Linked DNA regions of Homo sapiens: all the other regions are linked to region 1. Evidence: promoter capture Hi-C in 16 types of primary human blood cells and fetal thymus (Javierre and others, 2016). All regions are on one chromosome and are shown on one strand. The core of a region is centred on a gene start or on the middle of the fragment in contact, and the rest is flanking DNA. Distances in the headings are between cores, read along the strand shown.

Region 1 (2,515 bases), core at 16-2,515:
CACAACCTCAACTGAGTTCCTTGGTCAGGAAACAGAGCAATTCTCTGAAAATGCTACCTGCAACTCCACACGTATGCATGCCAGAGCCCAAACCCCTGGCTGATCCCCAGTCCATGCAAGCCTTAATCAAGCTGGCAGGTGGGCCAGGCCTGGCACACAAGTAGGGCCTCAGCTAAAACAGCTGCTTGACTTAGTACAGCCTCTCACCAGCTGACAACACACCCCTAAGTTCCATACCCCTCTCTAGGCCTCCGTCTTCTCATCTGTAGAATGGAGCTAATTCTGCCTACAAGTTTAAATGGCCCTGAGTTGGTCACCACAACCCTGTCGTTTGCAAACCGAGGGGGCTGAAGCAGCAGTTCCAGCCTCTGTGACTCCACTGTTAGCCCAGCTGATTTTTGTGAACTTTCCCCCAAACCCACTGTGTCTCAAAGGATGGTCCCTGGGCCACCCACCCACGAATTACGGGGGCGTGGGTGGAGGCTCGTTAAATGCAGATCCCGGGCCTGACCCGGACCTGCCGTCTGGATCTCATTTTAGGCGGCGCTAGAGATCCCGGGCCAGGGAAACTTGAGAACCGCAGCTCCAAATCGCCAGTGCTGACGGCTTCCGCTTTGGGAGCCCCAGGTGTTGCTGTCCGAACTCACTTGGTGGAAACAGACATTTACCAGAAAGCCTGGGGTCGGGCAGCGGGCACTCCTACCGCTCTAACCCCGCGTAGCTGAAAGAATTCGCTCCCTCAAAGGAGTCAGTGAGCTTCGGCAGTCTGCGTTCCACCCGTTTCGCTTCGCGCGGCGGGGCGATTGTGTAAAGCGGGCCCGGGTCTCGGCGTCCAGCCCGGCCCCAAACCTCCGGCCCCCAGGCCTCTCCGGGCTAGCGGCCGGGCGGCGCTGCTGCGGGGTGGTCGGGGCGCCTCCGCGGCTACTCACCCGGGGCGACTCGGCCGAGAGCCCGACAGTCGGGACCGGAGCGGGAGGAGCGGGTGGCCGCGGCCCGGCCCCTGCCCCGCGGCACTTTAACCGGCGGCGCCGGCGCCCCGCGCGCTCTCTGCGTCCGGAATGGGGACGCAGCAGTTCCGACCCGGTCGGCCCCGGAGCCGCGAGGCTAGCTGGGCTCCAGCGGAGGCGCGCGAAGCCCGAGGGCGGGTGCAGCTGATGCACCTGGCTCACTGCATGCACGTGTGCGCGGGGGTAGGCGCGCGCCGCGGCGGCCCGTGCTCCGCCAGCGCTCGGACACGGCCCATCCCTCCGAGCCCCAGCAGGCGAGGGCGCTGCGACCTGCCCCAGCCTGGGAGGGGGCCAGCGGGCCCGCCCTCTGTTCGGGTGGCGGGAATGGGTCGGCGCTGCGAGAGGCGGAGCCGAGAAGGGGCGGCCCGGCGGCGCCGGGATAAAAGCGCAGCGTGCGGGTGGCCTGGATCCCGCGCAGTGGCCCGGCGATGTCGCTCGTGCTGCTAAGCCTGGCCGCGCTGTGCAGGAGCGCCGTACCCCGAGAGCCGGTAAGCCCCCGCCAGCACCTCTTCCCTCATCTCCCGGCCCTCGAGCCCAGATCCTGACGTCGTCTGATCCGCCAGTCCAGGCTGCCCCGAAGGCGTGCGCGGACTGCCGGCTCAAGGGGCATGCCTGCACCCTCAGGGCAGCCCCGGACATCGGCGTCAGGTTGCTTGAGTCAGGGGCGTGGGAATCAGACAGACCCGGTCTCAGATGCCACCCTGTACTGTTGGTTCTGTCATTTATGCTCACCAAGTTCCAAGTCCCGAACGGTAAAACGAAGGGCAGTACCGAACCCACCAGGGTCTCTTAAGGTATAACGACATGGCCTGCAATTAGCGGCGAAGGGCCTGGCACGTAGTTATTGTTACTTGGGGTCTGCTCACCTGTTGGGGCACAAGAACTGTTTCTCCATTAGTACCCCCTCCCTTTTTGGCCATATTGATTGCCATGTTCACTCGTGAAGGCAGTTGCCTTTCTTCCCCAGTACCCTGAATGATCGAGGGAATCTTCTGGGTCACTGAAGAGAAAATAGCTCATCCCCCAAATAACCTTTGAAATGATACCGCTGCCCTCTTAGAATAGCATATAGCATCAAGCTCCGTAGTCACCTGCTGGTGGACAAACCCCATTCACTGTTTCCTGATGTCTTCAGCTCCTATCCTTCCCCTCTGTGTCAGTTCAGAAGCCCTCTTGGCTCTTTGCACTAAAGGGAAGAATTCATCCCTTTTGCTGTAGTTGCTGCAAGGCCAACAATTTGAGCTTGGTAGCATTTAGGGTTGTTGCTTGGCCTCTCACCGGCCGTTTGATAAGAACTCAGCTCCTGGTATGATGGCTCATTTGTTAAAAAAAAAAAAAAAAAGTCAAGTCTGGCCGGGCTCGGTGGCTCACGCCTGTAATCCCAGCACTTTGGGAGGCTGAGGCGGCCGGATTGCCTGAGGTCAGGAGTTTGGGAACAGCCTGGCTAACATGGTGAAACCCCGTCTCTACTAAAAATACAAAAAGTAGCCGGGCATGGTGGCAGGCGC
Region 2 (2,515 bases), core at 12-2,511, 160 kb before region 1:
AGAACCATGGAGTTTTGTCTTTGGAGGGCTTTCCGGATGACATTGTTCCACAGCTCTCTGGAAATAGGGCAACTGTGCTTGGCCTGCAGGCAGTTGAATTTGATATAACAGACGAATAAGAAGCAGAAAATCCTGCTGGATCCTTTTTTCTCCCTCTCTCTTAACTTCCTAAGAATGACTTATTCATTTAATGAATTTTTTTTCAGTTCCTACACAGTGGTAGATGTATGCCAAGTGCCCTGCTAGGCACTGGGGTTACAGTGGTGGAATGTAGGCACTGGGTAGGCACCAGGATTACAGTGGTGGGATGTAGGCACCAGGGTTACGGTGGTGGGATGTAGGCACCGTGTAGGCACTGCAGTGACAGTGTGGAATGAAATGGTTTCTTTCTTCGTGAAGCTTATATCTAATGATGGAGGCCAAAATGACAATTACAAACTCGTATAAATGCTTTGAAAGAAAGGTTCATGTGCTGTGAGAGGGTTTAACAGGCACAACTGCTGTCAGTTTATTGGGTAGGAGCATCCTGGAAGTGAAGAATGAGTAGTCCACATATCCAGGCAAGGTGGGACAAGAAGCTAGGGCAAGGGTATTCTAGTCAAGGGAAAACCCACAGAAAGGAGGTACAGTAGGAAGGAGCAGAGGATGCTGGAGGAACTGAATGAAGCTAGGGTGACAGGAACTGGGAGAGCTGGAGATGAAGTCAGATGAAAGGAAAGAGACTGGCCGGCAGAATCCAGGTCACGTAGGACCTTTAGACTATGTCACAGGTTTTGGTCATTAGCTGAAGGGTAAGAGAATGCATGGATGAATTTTAAGCAGGGAGTGATATTCAAATTTACATTTTCTAAAAATTATGCTGTATTCTCATATCCTCAACTTACCTTAAAATGCTTCAAAAAGATAAGATGATTAATAGATGGATAGGGGGATGCAGAGATAGGTGATAAAGAAAATGTAGCAGCTGGGTGCTGTGGCTTGCACCTGTAATCCGAGCAATTCAGAAGGGTGAGGTGGAAGGGTTGCTTGAGGCCGGGAGTTTGAAACCAGCCTGGGCGACATAGCGAGGCTTTGTCTCTGGTAAAAAAAAAAAAAAAAAAAAAAAAAAAAAAACAGAAGTCTTTTTAGCTGGGCAATGTGGTGTGTGCCTATAGTCCCAGCTACTCAGGAGGCTGAGACAGGAGGATCGCTTGAGCCTAGGAGTTTGAGGTTGCAGTGAGCTATGATCATGCTTCTGCACTCCAGCCTGGGGAGCAGAGTGAGACCCTGTCTTAAAAAAAAAAAAGAAGAAGAAGAAAAGGTAGCAGGTGTTAATTATGGAATCTAGGTGAGGTAGGCATATGGGTGTTCATTGTATAATTGTTTCTACTTTTATGGATGTTTGAAATTCTTCCTAATAAAATGTTGGGAAAATCTGCATATGAAAATCACTGTGGCTGCAGTAATATGAATAGATTGGATGGATACACAAATGGATGTAGAGAGACCAACTTAAGGCTCATATAATCTGCTTCCAGCCACAACATACTAGTGCTACCAGACTGGACCTTTCACCATAAACAACTACAAAAGACTGGGCAAAAAATAGGAAGCAACTATTTTCAGAAAATGGAAATAGGATATACAGGATTGCAATCCCTACGAGAAGGGAAACACATGAGGTAAACTCCGCAGTTGTCCTGGCTTTCTGCCTGGAGACAGTTTTAGAATTATGGCAGAGAGGGAGAGCCCAGCAGAGAACGATGGTCTATTTGCTGAGGGGTCAAAGAACAGTGTTCAGGGCTGCTAAGATAGCTGGGATTTTCAGGGCAGAGTATGGGTGAGAAGTATGCAGAGAAGGGGCTCCAGTACTCAGAGTGGAGGTTCTTTGAAATCTGACCATATACTAAGCTGCTTCTGTGCCAGGTGATACTTATTGAAGCCAGGCAGAGAACAGCTAGTAGAATGCTGTAAGTGGTTGGAAATCTCTCCGTGCTGGGAGGTATATGGTTCTGCTCAGCTGTAGTGGAAGGACCTAATTGAATACATTGGGTACTGAGACTTCAGAAACGCCAGGCTTTAGGGTTGGAGCTACTTTAGCCCTTGAGTAAGCCTACTGTAGACCTGACTTAAAAAGCATAGAAACAAGCTTCAAAAGGATCAGGGAAATGGCCAATAAATTAAACACCTGTCAAAAAGACAAAAATCAACACTCGTTAAAGGAAGAGACCAAAACTCAGATGTTCCCAGAATGTTTTTCCTCATGACCCAAAACTATAAGACATGAAAAGAAGCAGGAAAATATTCACGATCAAGGAGGGAAAAGTCGATAGAAACAAAAGATGACAGATGTTGCAATTAATAATCAAAGACTTTGAAGTCACTACTATGAGCCTGTTTAAGGAACTGAAGGAAAAGATGGACATAATAAAAGAATAGGTAAATCTCAGTAGGTAAATAGAAACAGTACAATATCTGAAAAAAGTAGACTGGACATTGCAGAAAAAGTTGATGAGGGCTTAGTGATCTCTAAAAC
Region 3 (2,515 bases), core at 12-2,511, 150 kb before region 1:
CTGTTCCGTGTTTCTGTGTCCCTCCTTCCACAGCGAGAACTCTGGCTCCCAGCAGCATTAGCACATGTACTCACTGGCTAAATCCTGTAATATGTCTAAGATAGTTTCAGAATGGTCTCATCCACATCACTGCAAAAAACAAAGCTACTGAAAAGAGTTCAGCATTTGTTTGTAGTTCATCCCTCACTCCAATCCTACCCAAGACTGAGAGTATGTCGTCAAATATTCATGAGCTATTTGAATTAGTTTTGTCTTTCTCCTTCAGTCTGGTTATGGTATTCATTTGAATTACAGATTTGTTTGTTTCAAATCACTTTCAGTTTAGGGGTATTTTCCCTTCATCTCATCCTTACTGACTTAATTTTTAAAAATTTAAGGTGAAGAACATTAACATGGTTCCCAAAGTCAAAACTATAGAAAAAGGTATACTTAAGAGTGTCACTCCAACCTTGATTCCTTTGGCCTAATTCATTCCCATCCCTTGTTTTCTGCTCTTTCTTTTAGATACACCTGAGAGAAATATGCTCCTTTTATTTCCCAGTTTTTCGTGTGTAAAGGGTAGCACACTTTATTGCTTTTTTTTTTTTTTTCATCCAGGCACTTCTTATTTATCTTTTGATCAGACACACCATAACCAAAATTCTGGTTTGGAACAAGAAGACTCCTAGCATATAACAGTTGTTGGATTTTTAGTCACTTGCAAAAGTCTGTTGGTTTCTACCAATAGCTTTATTAAATAAGCTTTGTAAAACAATCTCTTAGTAATAGGATTCTTAGAATATGATGAATTCTTATGCAAAGTGGAGTAACTTTTTTCCCATCATTGCAAAGTTTGATAGAAGGTGCCTCGGACTTGAGGTGTGATTTTCAGGATCAGAGGGTCAGTTGTGATGGGAATGGGTTATTCTCAACTGAGCAGATAGTGTACAGGATTGGCAGTGGGTTTGCCAGCTCATTGCGATCACTCTGAGCCTTGGGACCCATGTGTCCTTCTATGTGTCTCCCAATCCTAACGGGTTTGTGGCAGCTTAGAGCCCATTCACAGCTAGTGCTAATTTTTCTCCCTTTGATAATTTGAGAAAGCTCTTCCATTTGCCTTTTGAATGTCTCTCTTATGTCTGGATTCAACAACTATTATACATTTGAACTTCACGTTGATACCACTCTTTGTGTTTTCAAAGCCTTACTGAATGTCTTGCTTAATTCCTGTGAAACAGCGGAACAGGTATTGTTGTGTCTGTTTGGAAGTGAGGAAACTGAAGCTCAGAACACAGCAGTGACAGAGCTAGGACTAGAAGCCAGGTCTTCAGACGAAGAGCCCAGAGTGGTGTAGGAGGGCCAAGGATTTATCTGGGTTTATCACAGGGACTCTACCTCCCTGCCCCCTTCCTCCATCCTGCCCTGTGGCCAACAGATTTCTACTGTATAAACCTCACCTCTGTCCACATCAATAAATAATACCTTCCTGCTAAATATTCAGCCATTCAGAACTGTCTAAAATCAGTTCAGAGGGTCTATATCAGCAGCTTTGTTATATGAGCTTTTGTGATAGTGACCATCATTGTGAGTGGGCCATAAACCAGGACTTGGCAGGGTTTTTTACTCCTAGGAATTTTAGTCAGAGTAGAGTTTTACTTATGCCTGCTTACCTGTGTCCCAGCAGTGGAAAATGTACAACAGTGATGCAGCTTGTTAGAAATGGGATTTTTATATTTGTAATGTTAAAAAGGCATAAAATATTACAAAAGAAAATTAGGAAGATAGTAAAAGAGTTACCCTGAGAAGCTTAAGGACGTTCATTTTATAATGTATGTAATTATACATTATAAAATGTATATAATTATATAATTTAAAAATAAAATATAATTATATAATTATAATACATTATAAAATGTATATAATGTATGTAATTATGCATTATAAAATGAATGTCCTTAAGCTTCTCAGGGTAACTCTTTTACTATCTTCATAATTTTTTTCCCAAGAACCCATATATGATATGGACCCAAAGTAAGAATACCTTGTTTGTATGTAACCATCTGAATTTAGTATTCTAAGTTCGGAATCAAAACATGCAAACAGATTTGTACTAGGATACTTTTCTGGTGAATAATAGAACTGAAGGTCCACTTTTCTTTGAGATGTATTTAAGAAAACAGATTATATAATTCATTTTCCTGCAGATACATGACATGCCAAGCCCTCTTACTGTTGCTCAGGGATGTGATTCTGGATTGAGTTGTGATTTTTTCAGAGTTCAGAGAATCATTTGGTGAATTTACCTAGAGCTGAGTTATGTATTTCCCATGTGTCAGGAAACCCCGGAGGCCTAGAAACCCCAAACCATTCTCAGGGTGTGGTACATGTGAATGGCGAGACACTGGAGTCCTTACTTCTTTGAGACAGCAGGTGTTCTTTGGGCTGGGAGGTCAGAGCACGTGTCTGGGCTCAGATCGGCTCCTGCTCACTCTCTAGATCCACAAAGCCTGGCCTCCTTCCTTATTCACAGGGGGTG

Evidence for each region. Contacts are between HindIII fragments. The CHiCAGO score rates a contact against its expected background, and 5 or more counts as called.
Region 2: a fragment that was not itself captured here is called in contact with the fragment with the promoter of CHDH in region 1 in 1 of 17 cell types (M2 macrophages); the score reaches 5.1 in M2 macrophages.
Region 3: a fragment that was not itself captured here is called in contact with the fragment with the promoter of CHDH in region 1 in 1 of 17 cell types (M2 macrophages); the score reaches 10.3 in M2 macrophages.

The regions. Positions count from the first base shown.
Region 1 is chr3:53,845,154-53,847,668 of GRCh38, forward strand. It overlaps CHDH (choline dehydrogenase), which reads right to left and starts at 1,266. Exons shown (of 9, transcript NM_018397.5): 1 at 930-1,266. It overlaps IL17RB (interleukin 17 receptor B), which reads left to right and starts at 1,415. Exons shown (of 11, transcript NM_018725.4): 1 at 1,415-1,495. The coding sequence starts at 1,436. RefSeq lists enhancers at 1-381, 382-1,222, 1,169-1,463 and a silencer at 814-1,463. The HindIII fragment of the contact is 5,797 bases long and covers 1-2,515 here.
Region 2 is chr3:53,681,284-53,683,798 of GRCh38, forward strand. The region is part of intron 8 of CACNA1D (calcium voltage-gated channel subunit alpha1 D); the gene reads left to right. Among named protein-coding and RNA genes, the nearest start is that of CHDH, 160 kb to the right of the region's middle. The HindIII fragment of the contact is 1,729 bases long and covers 398-2,126 here.
Region 3 is chr3:53,698,232-53,700,746 of GRCh38, forward strand. The region is part of intron 8 of CACNA1D (calcium voltage-gated channel subunit alpha1 D); the gene reads left to right. Among named protein-coding and RNA genes, the nearest start is that of CHDH, 150 kb to the right of the region's middle. The HindIII fragment of the contact is 1,044 bases long and covers 740-1,783 here.